Linked DNA regions of Homo sapiens: region 2 is linked to region 1. The links are contacts of gene promoters, found by promoter capture Hi-C in human tissues and cell types (Jung and others, 2019). All regions are on one chromosome and are shown on one strand. Each heading gives the region's core, a stretch centred on a gene start or on the middle of the fragment in contact. The rest is flanking DNA. Distances are from core to core; before and after follow the strand shown. Region 1 holds the start of ISL2 (ISL LIM homeobox 2). Region 2 overlaps HMG20A (high mobility group 20A).

Region 1 (4,807 bases), core at 1,127-3,626:
TACCTGCCCATTATACACTCAGACCCCATCTCTGGGCAGCTGCTGATTAGGACCCAGAATATTCCAGTGACAGTCCACTATGCATTGATACTCCCCCTCCCCCAGAAGAACCTGGCTAAATTGTTCATCAAACTGGGCCTCAAAACAAGATGGCAAAAACCCCTCTTTGTTGGGTTCTTGGCTCCTGGCTGACCAAGCTCCTGCCCAGCTCCCAGTTTGGAGCTGTGTTACTTACACACATACCCCTGGGCAAACCTTACCCTCTGACAATAACACATATTCCTCCAAGAAATTCCTAATACAAGCCCCAAGACGGACACCACTTAAGATTCCCTGTTGTCATCCACTCTTCTGCTCCTAGCACTGTGCCCTGCATGTTCCTGGTCATGGAGAACACGATTCTGCACAATTCTCCGTGCTCACACACTCATACACACGCAGTTTCTCCCGAGCACACGAGAATACACACAGCCTTGTTCCCAGCACACAGTTCCGCACTGATACAGAAAAACACTATCCCGGCAGACGGAACCACACACAACTGACAACTTCTCGTTAGGGACACAAGCGTACCCCTACACACACGCACGCACATACACCCCGCTCACCCCGGCACAGGCCCCGGCGCGCTTACCGGGCAGATGCAGGCCGCGGGCGCCGGGAAGCGGGCCGGGGCTGCGCGGGCTGCCGGCCGCGGCGCGCTCGAGCAGGAGGCCGTGGTCGGCGCGGCAGAGCAGCTCGTGCTCCCGCAGCGAGAACTCGTCCCCAGGCAGCAGCTGGCGGCTGCACACGGAGCAGCGGAAGCACTCGATGTGGTACACGCTGTCCCGCGCCCTCATCACCAGGTCGCTGCTGCTGAAGCCCACCTGGCACTTGGCGCACTTGATGCCGAACAGCCTGCGGGCCCAAGGTGCGGCGGTGTCAGCGCTGGGCCTGCGGCCGCCCTCATCTCCCTGGCTGCTACGGCTCCGGCGCGCGCCCAGGACACTTTGTGGCCACCAGGAGACTGCGGTGACCCGCCTGCGGGCATTCCCGGGCCCGGGGGAGCGCTGCGGCACCCGTGCGGGATGCGGATGGCCTTCTCCCTGGGCAGGGCCGGGGCGCGCGGGCAGGCCGCCATCCCCAGTCCCGGCCCCGGCCCCTGCGCGCGGTGGCCCAGCCCGCGTTCCCGCCGGCCTCACCTGACATAGTCCCGCTTGCAGTAGGTCTTCCCGTCTCTCACGAAGCACGTGCACGTCTCGTCCAGGTACTGGCTGCACTCGGCACACTTGAGGCAGGCCGCGTGCCACTCGAGGTCGGGCGACACCCGCAGGATAAACTGGTCGTGGATCTGACTCCCGCAGCCCACGCACATGGCCGTCCCGGGCTTCTCTGCCGGGGAAGGGCGCGGGGCCGCGTCAGGCCTGACTGCCCGGACCCAGGCCGGCCTCGGCTACTCCAGCCCCAACCCAACCCGCTCGCTCTCTTGCTCTTTCTTTCAAGACTTGCGACCATAAGGAAAGATGATGAGCTCTCTAAAGGTCCAGGGCATTGGAAACGAAAAACCAGTATCTTGTGGATTGCTGAAGGTTTCTTCTGTCCCCCACCCCAAATATTTCGTTATTACATTCATTAATGACAGTCGTTTTGTCGACGTGTCTTGAAACTAAACGCAAACACGAAACTAAGAAGAGAGTAAATACACAGGCACTGCGGACGCCTGGATATCAACACCTAACGGTGCTGTCCTGGCATTTCCGCTCACACACTCCCACTCACAGCGGCTGCCTCCTATCCCAACACAGACACATCGTCTTTCGGCAGTCCCCGCTCATCCTCTCAGACATTTCTTAGTTTAAATATCCCAGAGCAAGCGAAAGAAAGCTTCCTAGCTTTGAAAAACCGAAAGGCAAACAAACAACAACCAAAAAAAAAAAAACCCACATCCCTAAATCAAACCTAATTGCCTTTGCGCAAAACAGAAGCAGATTTCGCAGCCCGAAGTCATCCTAGCCGGCTTGAGAAATAGTGTTTACTTATAAAATAAAACAACAGGATTCCCAAAGATAAGCAGTCCTGCAGGAGACATGCATTCGTTTTTCCTCTCCTAAACTATTCTGACAAATAGAAGCCACTTGTAGAATCCACTAAACATTTTTCTGCATTAGAAATTTTGCATATTAAGCATACACACACACCCCACCCCACACACACACAGAAATACTTACTCTTGGAATGATCACCCATAGCACCCAGAAAAGGATAATGAAAAATAATATCCACCATGCAGAAAAAGAGATGTGCGCAAAGTGTGCGGCCAGGGGCAGAAGGACGAGGGTCGCGCGCCCGGCCTCGGCTCTTTGCTAACTAACTCCTACTGCCCCGCGGAGTTGAAGGAGCGATTCCGCACCGGCCCGCACGCAGCATGACGTCAACACGCACTAGCCCCGGGCCGGAGCTGGGGGCGGGACCTGTGGCGTCACGAAGCTTCCCCAGAACTGCCGGGGATGCGGGGGAGGTGATGGGGATCCAGGGGCTGATGGGCGGGGTGGGTTGGGTTGGAGGCTGGGGGTGAAGGGAGATTGGCTGGGAGGAAGTGGGCCAACCCTGATTGGCCCGGAGTGAACAATGGAGTGCAGCCCCCCCACCTCCGAAACCTACAAGGATCCTCTCTCATGCCCCGGGCCTGGCAATCTGGACTGGACCTTGCGTCACCGCCGAGCTGGCTCCGCGGCCGTTACAACTCTGAGCTTCCTCTTGGACTTTCGGGGCGGTTTTCCCAGGCGCGCTGGAGCTGGGTGATGGATACCTGAGGGTGGAGATGGCTCTCCTTTAAGAGCTCCCTTCTTATATAAATTAAAAAAAAAAAAATTAAACCCACTCTCAGGACGAGAGAGCCGAGGACAAGGGGGATCCGTTTGGACGTGACCGTCATCGTCCAGCTGGTCACCTTTCTCCTCTCATGTGCCTTTGTTCTTCGGGTCCAAGCTAGAGAGAGTGTAGAGAATGACCACCTGGGTTCTGATAAACTCTATTTAGACTTTCCTATCCACACACACGTAGAAAACTTTAGATTGGGGCATTACGTGGGTTGAGCCAGAACCCAGATCCAAAAGCGCTCACCCGGGACTGGGACGGGTCCTGACTCCATCCTTGCTGCTGCTGCCGCTGCTGCTGCCCCTCCTCCCTCTCCTCCACCACCACCTCCTCCTCCTGCTCCACTTCCTTTTTTTTGTTGTTTTGTTTTGCTTTTAATTTGTTGCTGTTGTTGTTTTAAATGTAACATGGACTTCCCCGCCCCCTCATTTTTCCCCCATCCAAATGGCATAGCTCCTTTTAGGAACACTGCTGGGGTCGATTGCGTGTCCAACTTCCAAAATAAAAGATTTTTCTAAACTCTTGTCCTTCATTAACAAACCCACTGCAATGCAAATAATCAGAAACGAACGTAAGGCGCTGGGTAATTTACAGTGGTATCTGCGAGGCGGCGGCTCGTTGGTCCTGAGAAAATCTGAGAGCTCTGAGCACAGTCCAGGCATTCTTTCAAAGAAATCGCTGTGGGTTTTGTTTGAAAGGGTTCAAAGACCGGCCCATGAATTATAAATAACATTTATCCAACCATGGTGTCTGTTCTTGTTTTCCCATTAAAAGGAGTACCAAGAACTTGGTGTGCGCCTGGGTGGGGCGCGAGGTGAAACGCCTGCGGATAAAGTGTCTCCACCGCCATTCCAGACCCTGCCCAGACCTTCGGGCTTGTGGGCCTGAGGGCGCGGTCGCTACTGCCGTTCTACTAAGAGCATGAGGTTGGTTGGCGTCGAAACGGATGCAGCCGAGGGCGCAGGCCGAGGCTTTGCAGAAGGCTAGGGCGAGGCCCCGAGTGCACGCTAACATTATTCGACCATGGTCCACGGTGAACGTTCCTCACCGGCCCCGCGCTGGGGCGAGCGCTTTAAGCCTCGTCCAGTAGCGTCCGGCTTTTGAGCTCCGCCTCCACCTTTAGGAGGTCTAGTCTTCTCACCGGTCCGGCTTTTTTTTTTTTTTTTTTTTTTTTTTTTTTGAGATAGACTCTTGCTGTGCCGCCCAGGCTGGAGTGTAATGGTGCGATCTCGGCTCACTGCAACCTCCGCCTCCCGGGTTCAAGCGATTCTCCTGCCTCAGCCTCCTGAGTAGCTGAGATTGCAGGCGAGCGCCACCACGCCCCGCTAATTTTTGTATTTTTAGTAGAAACCGGGTTTCACCATGTTTGTCAGGCTGGTCTCGAACTCCTGACCTCGTGATCCGCCCACCTCGGCTTCCCACAGTGCTGGGATTACAGGCGTGAGCCACCGCGCCGGGCCACCGGACCGGCTCTTGTTACAGTTTACCACCCGTTGGCCAATAGGCCATTTCTTGCGTCTTTAGTCAACAGTCCCCCAAAGAGCGCTCACCCTGAGTGTGTGCGGGCAGGTCAGGGGTTGGGGGATGCTGCGTTTGAATGAATGTGTTTATGTAAATGGGGGACAAGAGCGAGGGGGTGGGTATCTGTGCCTGAGGCTGTGCCAGGACACCTGTGTGACCTCAGGCATCTTATTTTAATTCTCCTTCCCTCAGTTTCCTCATCTGTAAAATGGGGGTATAATAATTGTAGCTATCTCTATTACATAATAATTAAATAAACTGTTCTCTGGAAAGGGCTTAGAGCAATACCTAGCACAGAGTAAGTGCTCCATATGTGTTAATTATGACAGTTATGACTGTGGCTGTATCTTTATGTTGGGAGCCTCTGCCCACCCTGCCTGCGTGTGTCTGGATGGGGAGGGGAGGTCTAAGTATGTCTCAGTATGTGTCA
Region 2 (5,437 bases), core at 1,737-4,236, 1.1 Mb before region 1:
TACTGAATTCAATTTACTTAACAGATAAAAACAGTATTCAGATATTCTATTTCTTCATGTCAATTTTTTATATGCCAATTTTAATAAAGCATTTAACAATTTGTCCATTTCATCTAAAATTTCAAATCTGTCTATGTAAGGTTGTTCATAGTATCTTCCTACCTTTTTGACATCTGTAGAATCTGTAAAGAAATTTTCCCTTTTCATTCCTGATACTGGTAATTTATGCTCTTTTTTTTTTCTTTATCAATATTGCTAGAGGTCTATGCATTTTACTAATCTTTTTAAGGAACCAACTTTTGGTCTTGTTATTTCCTAATGCCAATTTGTTGTCTTTTTTTTTTTTTTTTTTTGAGTCGGAGTTTCGCTCTTGTTGCCCAGGTTGGAGTGCAATGGCGCGATCTCGGCTTACTGCAACCTCCGCCTCCAGGGTTCAAGTGATTCTCCTGCCTCAGCCTCCTGAGTAGCTGGGATTACAGGCACCTGCCACTACGCCCAGCTAATTTTTGTATTTTTAATAGAGATGGGCTTTTGCCATGTTGGCCAAGCTGGTCTCAAACTCCTGACCTCAGGTGATCCACCCACCTCGGCCTCCCAAGGTGCTGAGATTACAGGCGTGAGCCACTGCGACTGGCCAACAATTTGTTTTCTATTTCATTGATTTCTATTTTTTTATTATTTCCTTTCTTCTACTTACTTTGGGTTTAATTTGCTGTTCTTTTCCTACCTTGATGGGTATTTAGATAACTGATTTTTTACTTTTTTCTATTCTAATATATGCATTTAAGGCTATAAATTTTTCATTGAGTATATCTTTAACTGATTCACATGTATTTTCATAATCACGCTGTTGTAAATGTGTTCTAATTGCCATCGTGATTTCTAGATTGGCAGTTATTTTCTTTAAGGAACTTAAAGGTTGCATTCTCTGAGAATATATCCAAGGGAAATGAAATCACTATGTTGAAAAGATATCTGCACTCTCAGGGTTATTGCCAGATTATTCACAATAGCCAAGATATGGAATCAGCCTCAGTATCCATCAACAGATGAACACAGAAAATGTGGTATATACGCACAATGGAATACTATTCAGCTTTAAAAAAAGGAAGGAAATCCTGTCATTTGCAACAAAATGAATGAGCCTGGAGGGCATTATCTGTTAAGTGAAATTAGCCTGGCACTGACAAATACCATATGATCTCATATGTGGAATCTAGAAAACCTGAACTCATGGAAGTATAGAGTAGAATGGTAGTTACCAGGGGTGGGGTGGGGCTGGGAAGATGTTGGTCAAAGGACACAAAATTTCAGTTTGATAGGAGGAATAAGTTTGAGATATCTATTGTACAACATGTTAACTATAGTTAATAACAATGTATTATATTCTTGAAAATTGCTAAGAGAGTAGATGCTCAGTGTTTTTACCACATAAATTGTGTGAGGTAATACATATGTTAATTAGCGCAATTTAGCTATTCCACAATGTATACATATTTCAAAACATCATGCTGTACATGATAAATACATATAATTTTTGTCAATTAAAAAAACAAAAAAAACCAGCTGGGCATGGTAGCTCATGCCTGTAATTCTAGCACTTTGGAAGGCCAAGGCAGGCAAATCACCTGAGGTCAGGACTTCGAGACCAGCCTGGCCAACATGGTGAAACCTTGTCTCTACTAAAAATACAAAAATTAGCTGGGTGTGGTGGCATGCACCTGTAATCCCAGCTACTTGGAAGGCTGAGGCAGGAGAATCGCTTGAACACAGGAGGCAAAGGTTGCAGTGAGCTGAGATCACGCCACTGCATTCCAGCCTGGGTGACAGAGGGAGACTCCATCTCAAAATAAAATAAAATAAAATAAAAAATAAATAAACCAAGTAGGTAAAAGCAAAAAAACAAACAAAAAAGTTACATTGTATTGTTTTCTGGCCCCCATTATTTCTGTTGACAAGTCAGATGTCAGTCTAATTGTTCCTTTGAAGATTATGTGTCTTTTTTCCTCTGGTTACTTTCAACAGTTTTATTTTTACTATGAAGAATGAAAGTGTGGTACTCCTTGTATTTATTCTGCTTGTCGTTTCTTGCACTTTTCAAATCCATGGCTTGATATTTGTCATCGGTTTTAGAAAATTCTCAATCACTGTCTCTTAAAATATTACTGCTTCTAACTTTCTCTCCTCCAGTCATATGTATGTTAGACTTCTTCATCATTTCCTCATGTCTCTGTAATAGTTTCATATTGTTGCTGTCACAAGTTATCCAAAGCTATTGGCTTAAAGCAATACAAATTAACTTTCTTACAGTTCTAGACTCTGCCTAGCAAACACTGTGAGGGGAAAACAAGTTTTAAAAAAGTTTCTGGGTACTGTCCTTCTCTAGGGATCTTGACCCAAGAACTAGCTACCTGGAGATCTCTAAAATCCAAGTTTTGTCTGCTCCGCCCCATAAAACTAACAGCTTCTCTGCTTTTAGAAGAAACCCTCTGCTAAGTTTCACAGCATCTTGTCATGCTCTAAGAATTAGCAAATTCCTAGGAAAAAAGAGAAGCATGGAACATCAGCCCACTTCTCTGAAGCTCCTTTGGTTCTATGGTTGTGGTTTCTTAAGTCCTGGATGCCTCAGCAGGTCTCTGATGCCTTCACTTTTCTTTTTAATTCTCATCTTTCCTGTTCTTAGCAAAAGCATTAGTCTGCAGCAACCTCATCTCTCAGAGTCATAAGTGGAAACCATAGCTTGGGCTCTGAATAAAAACTCTACTGCTTATTAGTTAAGTGATTCGGCAAGTTATTTAACCTAGAGTATTTAAACATTTGAAGTTTCAATTTTCTTTCATGTAAAATGAACGTTAACACTATCTAATGAGGTTACTGTGAGGATGTGAAGATTAAATGAGACATATTTATAAAATGTCTGATAACAAAAACATTCTTATTGTAGGTTTTGTATGTGCCAAATACTTTATATAGATTTAATAATTTAATGTAGACATAGTTATCCTCCATTTCCTTTTCAAGACCACATATTAGTAAGTGATGAAGCTCAGATTTGATTCTAGAACACCAGTTTTCAATAACTACAAATTGTTGCTTCTATAATGTTGCTTGAGTATTGTTCCTGACACAAGTAAGTGGTCAGTAAATGTAAATTATTATTATATAGAAAATATAAATGCTTCAGAAATAGACACCAATCACATTAGTTTTTCTACTTTTTCTTCTGATGTTTCTCCTTTTCATTTTTGCAAAAACATTCTTACAACATCTTTCAATGTATTCTTAAAGACGCTATTGTGAAAAATGAATGTCTTACAGCCCACTGAGTAGATAGGCAATAATTTGCTTAGGCATTATTATATTGTTGAATATTTAGAAGGTTTCAAGTTTTAGACAGTATAGATATCAGTGCTATTAACATTTTGTGCCTTTAACTATTTTTCTTATTTAAAGTATTTTCTCAGAATGAAGTTCTATATGTGGAATTATTGGCTCAAAAGTATGAACATTTTATTATTTGTTGATATAACTGCTACTGTTATTAAGCCAAAAAGTTATGATAATTATGATGCCATCAAGCAACAAACATGAAGGTTTGTATCAAGAGAACAGGAATTAAAGCTATGAAGTATAGGAATGAAGGACATGTGGACATGGGGGAAAAAAAGGAGATATGAATTTTGAGGCTGGAAAAGAAAAAATGGGGTGCTGGAAATCATTTCTTTTGAAGCAGGCAAGCGCTAGTAATCCCAGCTACTTGGGAGGCTGAGGCAGGAGAATTGCATGAGCTCACTAGCGCCACTGCACTCCAGCCTGGGAGACAGAGCAAGACTCCGTCTCAAAAAAACAAAAAAAACAAAAAAACCCACCATATTAAATTATTATTATTTTGTTTAGTAGAGATGGGGTCTTGCTATGTTGCCTGTGTTAGTCTCAAACTCCTGGCCTCAAGCAATCCTCCTGTCTCAGCCTCCCAAAGTGTTGAGATTATAGATACAAACCACTGTGCCCGGCCAACATATTATTTAAAAATTATACATATAAATTGCAAAACAACCACACAGATTAAAGGCCTATGTTCTAGAGGCTCCCCCCTCCTTTTTTTTTTTTTTTGAGACAGAGTCTTGCTCTGTAGCCCAGGTTGGAGTGCAGTGGCTCGATAACAGCTCACAGCCTTGAACTCCTGGGCTTATGCGATCCTCTGGCCTCAGCCTCCTGAGTAGCTATGACCACATGTGTATATACCACCATGTCTGGCTATTTTTTATTTTTTTGTAGAGACAGCATCTCACTATGTTACCCAAGCCGGTCCCAAACTCCTGAGCTAAGGCGATCCTTCTGCCTTGGCTTCCCAAAGTGTTGGGATTACAGAAGCCACCACACCCAGCCTAGAGTCCACTTATTTGGTGTGTAATCTCGAGCCTTGAATTGCCTTATCTATAAATTGGGATTAAATTTTATAATATCCGACTAAAGCCAGAATTGGAACATCGTATCTCTTGTTTTATATTCCTGATATTAAATTTGTTTTGTGAGTATACCATACTTCAATAAAAATGAAGGAATCTCTCCTTTTTTGCTGATATGCTTTGAATGTCTTACACGCTATGCTTTGAATATCTTATCTTGTGATGAATATCCTGTTAAGAATCTTATGTCAGACTTTAAGTTACTATTTTAAAAGGTTACTTTACTTTGTGGGATTCTCTGAAGGCCAAGCCATTTGCCTGCTCTTTCTACAATCACATAAATCTTACTGGGTATACCCAAAGGCCGTTGCTTTTCTACAGCTGCCTTCCTCCTTCTTTGTTACCATCACAGATTTTGGGGTAGTAGGTACCTGATCATCAGGGAGAACACAGAAGGCCTTGAAAATGTGGGTTTAACCATACCAAGATCTTTCGCTCTGTTTATGTACTATAGCCTCCCCAGTAAAAACAAAACAAAACAACAAACAACATCTCTGCTAAATGCTTCATTATGAACACAGGTAAGTCAGTGCTTGATTGTCCCAAGTTCCAGTTCAGATTTTCCACTTTCCATTATCCTCCAGTAAATTTTAGTAGTGATACTGAGGGATCATGCAGTATGAGAATAAACACTGGCCTTAGAGGATCTGCATTCAAATCCTGTCTCTACCACTTACTGGTTAAGTGATTTTGGGCAAGTAATCTAATCTTTCTAAATCTTATTTTTCTCATATGGAAAAATGCCAAATTATTAGAATTAAGATAACATGTAGTGCCTAGCACAATACTACATAAATGTTAGTCAAGTGGGAATTGGAATTATGGCTCAGTGTGGTCTGAATCTGAATATTATTCAGAAAATAAGGACAGCAGCACTGAATAAAATTTTTTTTTGAGCTGAATAAAATTAGAGAATTTTGATTTCTAGGATCCTCAAAAATCCATATCCTTTAAAGAAGCCATATGGG

What was found. Contacts are between HindIII fragments. The study calls those that stand out against the background at their distance.
Region 2: a fragment that was not itself captured here is called in contact with the fragment with the promoter of ISL2 in region 1 in 1 of the 25 tissues and cell types used here (lymphoblastoid cells).

Annotation. Positions count from the first base shown.
Region 1 is chr15:76,334,342-76,339,148 of GRCh38, reverse strand. ISL2 (ISL LIM homeobox 2) reads right to left here and starts at 2,376. Exons shown (of 6, transcript NM_145805.3): 1 at 2,208-2,376; 2 at 1,182-1,371; 3 at 635-897. The coding sequence starts at 2,265. RefSeq lists enhancers at 1,056-1,867, 2,293-2,342, 2,036-2,535, 2,347-2,641. The HindIII fragment of the contact is 8,596 bases long and covers 1-4,807 here.
Region 2 is chr15:77,427,639-77,433,075 of GRCh38, reverse strand. The region is part of intron 1 of HMG20A (high mobility group 20A); the gene reads right to left. Among named protein-coding and RNA genes, the nearest start is that of HMG20A, 9.5 kb to the right of the region's middle. RefSeq lists an enhancer at 2,627-2,726. The HindIII fragment of the contact is 8,562 bases long and covers 1-5,437 here.